Linked DNA regions of Homo sapiens: region 1 is linked to region 2. Evidence: promoter capture Hi-C in 16 types of primary human blood cells and fetal thymus (Javierre and others, 2016). All regions are on one chromosome and are shown on one strand. Each heading gives the region's core, a stretch centred on a gene start or on the middle of the fragment in contact. The rest is flanking DNA. Distances are from core to core; before and after follow the strand shown.

Evidence for each region. Contacts are between HindIII fragments. The CHiCAGO score rates a contact against its expected background, and 5 or more counts as called.
Region 1: a fragment that was not itself captured here is called in contact with the fragment with the promoter of SH2D4B in region 2 in 1 of 17 cell types (M0 macrophages); the score reaches 5.7 in M0 macrophages.

The regions. Positions count from the first base shown.
Region 1 is chr10:81,174,584-81,180,083 of GRCh38, forward strand. No RefSeq gene overlaps it. Among named protein-coding and RNA genes, the nearest start is that of LINC02655, 530 kb to the left of the region's middle. RefSeq lists an enhancer at 3,036-4,235. The HindIII fragment of the contact is 1,815 bases long and covers 3,051-4,865 here.
Region 2 is chr10:80,536,582-80,542,042 of GRCh38, forward strand. It overlaps SH2D4B (SH2 domain containing 4B), which reads left to right and starts at 1,321. Exons shown (of 8, transcript NM_001388272.1): 1 at 1,321-1,934. The coding sequence starts at 1,751. RefSeq lists enhancers at 3,025-3,164, 4,202-4,381, 4,532-4,591, 4,762-4,881. The HindIII fragment of the contact is 17,935 bases long and covers 1-5,259 here.

The DNA.
Region 1 (5,500 bases), core at 2,708-5,207, 640 kb after region 2:
GGCTAATTTTTGTATTTTTAGTAGAGATGGGATTTCACCATGTTGGTCAGGCTGGTCTCAAACTCCTGACCTCAGGTGATCCTCCCGCCTGGGCCTCCCAAATTGCTGGGATTACAGGTGTGAGCCACCATGCCCGGCCAGGGTTTGGGTTATTTTTATTCAACTACATTGCTCAAAATTTCTCAAACAATGCTTGGACTCATTTTCCAGGTGTGTAAAATCCCTCATTAAATATGAGATATATAAAATCCCTCATTAAATATGAGGTGTGTAAAATCCCTCATTAAATATGTGTAAAATCCCTCATTAAATATGAGATATATAATATTGGAGATGCATATATAATGTGATATGTTAAGTTACACCTCAATTACAATGAATACCAACACATTATAACAACAAAATAAAGCCTGTATTAACAGTTTTCTTTTTCTACACTGACCTCAGTATGCTGAGAGCTTTTCTGAGGTGCAGCAAAATTGTCCATCCATCATTTCCAGCACACCATGTTTTAATGTTATAAGAATATTAGTAAAGGAAGAAGAATGTGCGCTTTTTCCCAAGAGAGGCATATTTACAAAGATTTCAAATTATATTTTATTCATGTAGGTTGCATCAAAATCAGTGAGATATTATTCATGATTGTTAAAAATTGTAAGCCAACCTAATGCCCAGCAAAGGAAAGTTGTTAAGTAAACTACGGAGCAACAACCTGATGGGACATTATGCATCAACAAACAGTGAGCATTTTGAAGACTCTGTAAGGAAACTGAAATGAAGATGTAAAACGGTTTTTAGGGGGTTATAGGAATTTTTGCTTTATTCATTTTACTATTAATGTGCTATAATGTTCCCACAATTAATAGTTATTGAAAAATTAATAAACAGAAGATGAAACTGAATTAGTTTAAGAAATTATTTGTGAAAAAGAAACATGTTCATTAAGTCTGCAAATGGACATAATGAAACAGAATATGTTAATTTCAAGCTGAGCATAAACTGACTTGGCCTGAGTCAATAGCAGGCTTAATTTTAAGTGTTGTGTCTACAATGTATTAGTGAGACAATGGTAGCTGTTTAAAGAAATAAGACGGAAACAATTCAAGGCAAAATGAACAATTAATTTAATCTAATAGAAAGTAATTTAAATCATCTGTTTGAAAAAGATTCCCCATTTATAACTTAACTTTTTTTTTTTTTTTTTTTTTTTTTTTTGAGATGGAGTCTTGCTCTGTCGCCCAGGCTGGAGTGCAATGGTGCGGTCTTGGCTCACTGCAACCTCCGCCTCCCAGGTTCATGCCATTCTCCTGCCTCAGCCTCCTGAGTAGCTGGGATTATAGGCACACACCACCATGCGCGGCTAATTTTTGTATTTTTAGTAGAGATGGGGTTTCACCATGTTGGTCAGGCTGGTCTCAAACTCCTGACCTCGTGATCTGCTCGCCTCGGCCTCCCAAAGTGCTGGGATTACAGGTGTGAGCCACTGCACTCGTCTGGAAACTTAACTTTTTAATAAAATAAATTTTTAAACATACTGCTTCCATGAATATTACTTACATATCAGATCTCACCTCCACAAAGTCAATTTTTTACATTAAAAAATCTAAAGTATAGACAAATATAATATTTTCCCCAGTTTTTTAGATATAATTTTACACAGAAAAATTTTGAAGACAGTGCACAGATCTTTCCATTATTAATTTTTATCCCACTTTTTTACTTTGTGCATGCTCTTTCTATGTATATATGTTTAATATTTTTTCAGGATACTGATACTATATGTTAGTATTTAATTATAATATATTATGTCCTATCTATATGTAAATAATATAATTCAATTATATAACAACTATAATGGCTTCCCTCTATACATGTTTTCCAAAAACTAATATAATGTTATTTTTAATTATATGCCATAATTAATTGCATAACATTAATGTATCAAATAGTTAATATATTAATAATTATATTTTAGATATAGTTTAGATTTCAATGAACCATAGATAAAAACTTAGGGGATTAAAAAAAAAAGAATAACTGCACCGAACATGTAGACTATTTTTCTTCTTATTTTTTAAAACAATACAGTATAACAACTTTTACATAGAATTTACATTGTACTAGGTATTGTATGTAATCTAGAGGTGATTTAAAATATAAGGGTGGATGGGCATAGATTATATGCAAACACTATGCCATTTTATATAAGGAACTTAAGCGTCTGTGAATTTTGGTATCCTCAAGTGGTGGGTCCTGAAACCAATGCCCTGCTGATACTGAGGGATTACTCTACATATATACATATATGTATATGTGTGTGTGTGTGTGTGTGTGTGTGTATACACACGTATATGTGTCGGTGTGTATTTTCCAGAATATTATTTCCAGAAGACCAAGAGGAGAGGAGAGAGTGATGAAAAAGTAGCAGCTAATATGCTTGGAAAACTTTAATTTCTATTTCCTAAGATCAAGAACATTTTTTACACATACATAGTACAATCATAGCATGGTTACCATGTAGAGTACACTTTGACAATAATGAGGGATAATGAATTAAATATTGAAAATATTTTCCATAAAGCATTTTAAAATGTAAAGTATGATGATATTGAAGAACAACAATGAAAAGAAGTTATACAATGGCTTTTTCAAAAAGAAGCAATGAGCCTATGGCTATGATGCACTAGCTGTATATAATAGATCAACCATTCTTCAGAAGATTAATGGAAAGCTAGTTTTAAAAACAACAAATTTTCTTGATGGTATCTTCAAGGTAGCTAGGATTTGAGACGCCAAGATCTCAGAGAAAAGGAAAGCTCTCTGGGCAGCTAAACGTCCATGGCTTCTCTTCTTAAAACATCCTCAAAACCAACACTAATATAAGTTTAAGTTCCTAATTTCAGCTCTTAGCAGTCTCTTTCCACTGTCAAAAATAGAAACTTGGAACTTAGAGCACTCTCAGGTGGAGTATTTCCAGGCTTTCACTTGAGGTCCCTGAAAGATCACACTGTAAAACTGAGGGTAAATCAGAAAGAAACTAGAACTTACAAAGCTTAAAACCAAGTTTGGTTGTAGAAAAATGATCTACTTTCACTTTAATAGCCTGCTAATATGTACAGAAAATTGCTGGAAAAATACGTTATCTGTAATCTCTTATTTTTTAATACACAATGTTTAGGAACTGTTGGAAACAGATAATCGGTGCCACGAAGAAAAGTCAGCACAGAGACAAAGGATCTCTCAGCAAGGCAATCTTTACTTTCTGCAGAAAGGGTGCCCTTCACAGATGGAACAGTAGCGAGAGCACATTTGAACAAAGGAAAAGCAGACATATTTATCCCTTAAGCATTTTGGTTGTCCTTACTTCTGTGTCCTGCATCCATTGGCTGGAGCTGGACCTCACAGTCCTAAACTGATACCCGATTTGCTAACAACCTGAAACTTTCCTAAATAGGTAAGTGCAAACAAAGAAGGAGAGGAAGTTGCTTATGAAAGGTTTAAGGAAGCAATAACATTTCCAAATAAGGAAGGAGCATCAGCTATGAGCTAAGACTTGCCTGGGCCTGTCTGGACACGCCTGAGTAAGCCAAAGCAACTAATTGGGCTAAAGTATAAGAACTGATAGTTGATAGAAGGCTTTAGAGTAAGAAGCTATTATTCCTACTGTCTATTATTTTATTTTTAAATCAAGATGAGCTTTGAAGAGGAACTTTTCTACTTTCTACAGGAACCAGTAAACTTACCTGGAAAACTAATTAACAAGAATAAGTTAAAACAGACAATAAAAACAGATTCACAAGGTTGTCAGATATATATTTTTAAGATAACAACTGATAAATATGTTCAGAAAAATAAATGACAGGATGAAGAACTATAGAATTGAAAACTATGACAAATAAAATTATTAATACAATATATAGGATTAATAGCAGGTTATTTATAGCTAAAGAGAAGATTTGTATTCCGGAAAATAGGGCATTAGGACTTCTTCAAAGTAAGACATGGAGAAAAAAGAGTCAAAAAATATAATAATGACTATAATATCTTAGGTGGAATATACTGATAAGTTTTCTTATCTATTGGATACCCACAAGGCAAAAAGAGAGATAATATTTGGGAGAGATTATGGTTAAGAATTTTTAAAATCTGATAAAAGATATAAAGTCATAGAGTCAATGAGCTGAAACAAAAAAAAAAGGCAGGGTAATTACAAAGAAAATCCTACTAAGGCATATCGTAGCCAAATTGCTGAAAATAAAAAATATTGAAAAATTTTAGAACCATTTAAAGAAAAATGTCAGATTGTCTTCAAACGTCAACAAAGGACATACAGCCAATTACACAGTGAAAAGAGCATGAGCCACAAGAAATGAGATATATAAAGTCCCAAAAGAAAATAACTGTAGGCATACAATTTAATACCCAAATAATATATTCTTCCAATTTAATGTGAAAAAGGCATTTTCAAATCAATAAAAGCTGATAGAATTTATTATCAGCAGAACTACATTAAAAGAGACATTAAAAAATATTTTCGAGGCAGAAGAAAGTAGGATCCCAAATAGAAACAAAGAAATACAGGAAGGAAGAAAAATAATGGGAAGGGTAAATATAAAATGAATGTTTACTATTAAAAATAATACTCATGATGTTTTATGGGGTTTGAAATACAAGCAAAATACAAATACTCTGATGGACTTATGTTTTCAGCCATAATCAAATAGATTGGAGGAGACTAAGGCCCCACTGAAGACAGCTAGAAAAGCTGCATAAAATAGGTTTGTTTGTTTTTAGTAATCTGTTTAAAGGCATCAGCTTTGAGCTGGCAAGGCAGCCAGGAGTTGAGAAGCCATATCCTGGAGAGAAGCTTATTGAGATAAACCAACTTCCTGTATGCTAATGAGAATCTCTCAAGGCGTTATCCAAATCTTATCACAGGCAAGAGGGTAAGGAGCTAGGTGTAGAGCAGTGCTAAGGGATAGAGAAGCTAATAGAGCTTTAGGCAACCTACGGAGTTGCGAGACAAAAAAAAATTGCATTTTGGGGCTGCCAAAACAACCAGAATTTAGAAGGCCAAGATCTGATAGAGAAGGCAACTGCAGGCAAGTGAGAACAATACTTAACATAGATTTTCTCCTTTAGTCATTTGTAATTAAGCTTCAAAGGGCAAGTGACAAAATAGCCAAACACAAAGGAGCATAAAAAAAGAGAATAATTTTTGGCAATGTCACGGTGCAAGGAAGACAGATATTTGAATTCAGAACTCAGAAAAAAAGAAGGGGCCCTCAGAAACACTCGCTGGACTCCTGGAAGGTCACTTAGTAGGAGTAGGGGAAAACAGAAATAAATATGTCCTTTCAAAGGCTGCAGAGCAGCCTTGAATGAGCTAAATTTGTGGCTCCATTGAGATGATCTGCTGCTGTACTGCCATCTAGAGGGCAGGGTTAAGCTTTTCTGAAGGAAGATAACATCCATGGCGTCTAAAATGGATGGCATACAA
Region 2 (5,461 bases), core at 71-2,570:
GTCTCAGAAACTGAGGGGAGCCAGGACTCCCGGTGGGGGAGTCGGTGCAAGCCCTGAGGTGGGTGGATGGGAGTCCAGGGCCACAGCTCTGCAGCGGACAGGCGAGTCCTGTGGCGGCTCTAGGAAGGTCTGGGCACACTGGGACCAGCTAGCTGGACCTGGGTGGGGAGGGGTGGGGCGTCTGACTCCACTCCTGTGACCTGGACATTGCCTAGCTGAGCAGGAGCTTTGACCCTATGGGCTTACAGCTCATCTGAATCTGCTTAGTCCATCTTCCTGTTGTGTTAACCTTGCAGAGGGGGAAGAATGCCAACTCTCCACCCCTCTTCCATCACTCTTGGGTACCTGATCCACCTTCCACCCTCATGGGCAAGGAAGGGGACAGGAAGGTCACCAATCCAACCAAGCCACAGTGCCAAATCCTGTTGGTTCGTTTGTTTTCCCTTGGTTGGGTTATGTTTTCAAACCATCAACAGATTCATAGTTGCTAGTGGATGTCAAATTTCAAAACGGGGGAGTCCCAATACAGTGACTTGTCCATTAGGAAGCCATAGGCAAGCCACTTACTTTCTCTGAGCTTCAATATCCTTGTCCCAATAAGAAGGCATCTGTGATTTGCTCTGAGCACATATTTAGGGTGAGCTTTCACCCTAAAGATCTCAGCAACGGCAGCTTCTACCCACCTTCACACACCAAAGAGAGGGTGGCTTCCCTCCCAGCAGAAGGCAACATCCCGCCATTCCAGTGTGCTTCTGATCAGGGCACAGAGAAGAGCCAGTTTCATCTTCTTTCTTTTTGGTCAACTCCAGGCATCTGCAACAAACAAGATTAACAACGACCATTAAAACTGGCCCCTGGAGGGTTTATCTGTCAGCCACGCATGGCTGCAGGATCTCATTATATATAGGCCAAAGGGAAAGGATGTCTGCTTCCTTTCTGTCCTGGAATTCCAAGATAAAATCCCCTCCAGTTGTCTCTACTGATTCCATTTTGTTTTCTTTCTTGGCTGTAACACAGATAGGAGGAAAAATCTTTCCTCCCCCAAGGCAGAGTTTTAAACGCATCATCTCAGAATGCCAAATGTTCTGGAAAGGAAGAAAGTTGGCAGCGAAGGAACCCGCAGAGAGAGGGGCTGAGAGGGCTGAGGGGCCCAGCAGCTTCTGGCAGGCTCCTCTGGTCTGTGTTTGAAATTGGCTGAAAAGACATGGAATTTAGTAGGCAAGTCTGCCTCCTTCTCCTCCTCTTATCTGCAGAGGAGAGATCAGTTCCCAGCTGGCCGGGGCAGTGTCATTGATATAGCTGGTGTCATTGTTACCTTCCACTAACAGATCACTCGACACCTACCAGCCCAGGCAGGGCTGGGACTGGGCATTTCCTGGCTGAGCTGGAGGCTTGGGCCCTTCCCATTGTCTCAGAACCCCAGGTGATGCCAAGACATGGGCTCTCCTGGGATGCCGTGCTTGGTGACCCAGGAGAAGGACTAGATTGCTCCTGGTGGTTGCTCCCCCTTGCAGAGTCCCACCTGCCCCTTTGGGTCCTGTTGCCTGGCCTCTTTTGCTGTCCTGGGTAGAGGAGATGAGTTCGTCGCTGGCTGCAAGCTGAGGCCAACTGACAATGCTGCACAGAGAAGGGGCACCGAGAGTGGCCCCGGATTGAGCAGTCCGTAGTGCAGAGCAGCCCCTCGGGCGTTCTGCCTGGCCCTGCTTCCCCTGCTGGCTGCCCTTCTGGTGCGTGCATCCCAGGTGGCATCATGCTGCAGCAGATCCTGCACGACATGTACATCGACCCCGAGCTCCTTGCCGAGCTCAGCGATGTGCAGAAGCACATCCTCTTCTACAAAATGCGGGAGGAGCAGCTGAGGCGCTGGAAGGAGCGGGAGACTTGGGAGGCCCTGGCCCAGGACGAGGGTCTCAGGCCTCCAAAGACCAAGCGAGGTACGTGGCTGGGAGTCACAGAGAGGTAGGCCACCAGTCCCCCAGGAGGTAGAAAAATTAGCAGGGCCAGGCTGTGCCCTTCTTCAAGATGGGCACTGGGGTGATGAGGGCTGGGGGCTTGAAACCCTTGTCTTGTGGGCATCAGGTCCCATGAGCCTGTGCTTTTGCCTTTTGGCCAGGACCTTAGGGCTTCGAGGCTGCTGCAGAGGCTGTCCAGCGGCCCTTATTGGAGTCGGGGAGTTGGGACTTGCTTTGTCTTGTTGTGGAAGGCCCGAGTTCTGGGAAGACACCATTGAGACTTCAGATTGTGCTCCGACGTGGTTGGCAATGGTAGGGTGAACGACGGCATATTTGTGACCCTTGCCATTGGTTCTGGGCCAGAGTGTGGTGTAGATATGCAGTTCCTTTCTCCTTGGCATGCGTGGCACACCAGTTCTTGGCTAGGGCCCCTTCTGTGGACTGTGCCTCTCCCTCCAGATCCTCCGGCAGGAGGATGCTGTGGGTTGTCTCTGGAGCCCCACTGGGCATCCGGAGAGAGGGCATCAGGGAACGTCCCACACAATGAATGACCATCCCCAAATGGTCGTAGCAACTGCAGATGAGAAGCAAGGGCCTAGCCTACATTTCAGGTGTTTTGTATGCAAAGTCATGTGCCAGTCAATCCTATGGACTGGTACACCTGTGGGTGAAGGAAATCATCCAGGACCCCTGGGCCAGAAACTGGCAGGCTGCTGAGGCTTGGCTTGGCACAGGACTCAATCCTGCCAGGGATTGTAGTTTCTGTGGATGCTGCATGCACTTTACAGTTTGCAAGGCTTATGTGCCTTCACCCTTTGAAGTTTTCAATCCAGAACAAAGTCCTGTTTCAGGGCTGAGCACACAGCTCCCTTGGTGATCTGGCTCTTCTCCATGCCAGGCTCACTGCTGGCCAGTCCCCACCAGGTGCCACAGGCCACACCCACATCATCTGGACATGCTTGCTCTTGTCTCTGGTCTTCACATGAGTGGCTCTCACCGTTGGGAATGTCCTTCTGCCTTCATCCACCTGACAGACTCCATCAGGAGTGGCCCCCCTGCCCTGGAGTGTTCAGGGATGCTCTTGCATAGGGCAGTACTTGCTCCTCTGTGGCTGCCTGGCATGTAGGACCCACGCCTGCCCTGGCATTTGCCACCCTGTCATTGTCATTCCTCATCTGCTTGCCTGGCTCTCCGATGGGCTCAAAGGCACTGGTGTGTGAGGGCTTCCTCCACTCTATCTTCCTCCCCTGGGCCCAGCACAGAGGTGGCACATGGTGTTAAATCCTTGTTTTGAACAAGACACAGCAGGACCCTGCCGGGGAGGTTGGGGCAGAGCTGTGACTTGGCTGCAGGTGGCTGCTGCCAAAGCTGGGGCCTTCCGGGCTGGGCTGCGCTGGCAGCTGCATCACTAACTGGTGAAATGACAAGCCACCTTGCCAGCACCACCCGGCCTGAGCCCTGGGGACTCATGATGCCTGCATGATGACTCTTCTTGGAGGGAGACAGATGCCTAAAAATTTAACTGCAAAAATATTTATACAGAGATTTGTCACACATAGACATCTACATTTTCATGTATAAATTATACATTAAACTCATTTGAGTTTCTGGTGCAGAAGATCCTTTTTCTGGTAATTAATTTTCTGATTTATAAAGAATGGAAAAGCAGGAAAGCACGCCGAGGAATGTGTGTATCCCAGGTCAGGATCCCGCTTGGATCCTGGCTCTTTGCTTCGGTCCTGCCTTTTGGAACTGTCTGGGCATGCCACTGGGGAGCCTGGGGGCTGGCCCTGCCCAGGAGCCGGAAGAGCTTTCGGCCGGAGGGTCCAGGATATACAGTATCTGCTTCATGTCCTGGGGTCGTGATGAAGGGTGGCAACAACTTGTGAGCTTTACGTTGACTGGGTGCCTACCCAGCCCTTGCTGCTCCCGTGTCCCTGCGGGGTGGCAGGGCAAGCTCCCTGATTTCATTGCAGATAAGGAAGGTGAGGCTCAGAGAAGTGATGCGCTACATCCAAGGTCATCCAGCTGCTACATCTCATGACTTGGATCTGGGGTCTGGTGACTGATTTTTTTTCTGTTCATTCACTTCCAAACTCGGAACTCCAATTAAACAAGTGAGCTGTGCACACATTCACTTGTTCACTCATTCACCAATTCATTCACTTATCCAGCATTACTATGTGCTGATTTCAGTGAATGGGGCAGTGCTTGTCCTGGAGACGGTGGGTAGATGGATCATAGGGAACACAGCCAACTCGAGTGCCAAGGGTGAGGCTTGGTTCAAAGCAGCCGTGCCGTGTCCCAGGGCGGGAATTGTGCGGGGACGGGCTCCACGGAGGAATCTTCTCTTCCTTCCCTTGATGTTGCCAGAGGACTCAGGAGGCTCTCCAGATGCTGGTGAGACCCCAGCCCCAGTTGATGTCCAGGCTCTTGAAACTGTCTTGAGAAAGAACTCGGGAATGAGTCAGAATGATAGGAAAGGCAAGAAACTGTTAGTGAGAAGCGAAAGTACACACTTGAGAGAGAAGTGCGGGCGTGCTCATGAGAACGTGTCACACCCAGCAGAGTCTGGGTTTCTAATTTTATGGGTGTTTCTTTAATTAGGGGATGGAACAATTATTAGGTGTTCTGGAAGAGGAGGAGATTTCAGGGAACCCCCTGGGTTACTGTCTCCTTTCTCCCTTCTTTGGGTTTGCCCAGAAGAGCCATGGACAAGTCACCCTGAGTGGGATTTCAGCTGTTTTTACTCTCTTCCTTTGGGTTTTCTGTTATCTTGTTGTTTCTTTGTCTTGTTCTTGTTTTAGCTGTTGTTTGGGTTTTTCCATGCTCCTGTGACCACCCAGTGCTATTCTTGTCTCATTGACAGGCATCCTCTTTCCTGGTCCCCTCCCTACACATTTTTTTTCTGAAGGAAGCACCTGCTGTAGCCCTGCTGAGCTGTTTGCTGGCCCCTTGGGATCCCTGAGCATGACGTGGGTTAGTCCTGGTCAGCCTAGAGTGACACTGGGCCTCCTCCGGGCCATCGTCCCCAGTGCTCTAAAGCCTTCCCTCTCCCCTCTTTTCTGGGAACATTCCTCGCTCCTGGCAAGCCTGGCTTTGCCATCCCTTGGGCTCAAGTAACACTCCCCATGTCCCTACAGACAGGCAGGCAGGACAAGGTGTGCCTTGTGCCTGAGAACCTCACAGCCCCGGAGTTGTGCCTGGTGAGGGTGCGAGTAAACACTGGTGATGTGAATCATTCTCGTTTACAGAACCTAGGAGGTTTTCTTGATTCTGAGATCCACATTTGGAACCCACAGAAGTAAGCTTGGGTGAAAGCTTAGAGGCGGACTGTGAAAGGTAGGAAGGAGAGGAGATGAGGGCACGGCTGGACACATCACTCCTCTGAGCACATGGCATTTCTTTTCTGTTTTCACTTTACGCTTTGGCAAGAACCCTCTGATGTTCTATGCTGTGGTGGATGGTGTGGACCCCTCAGCTTGGTAGGTTTTTTAAATCTAACATCA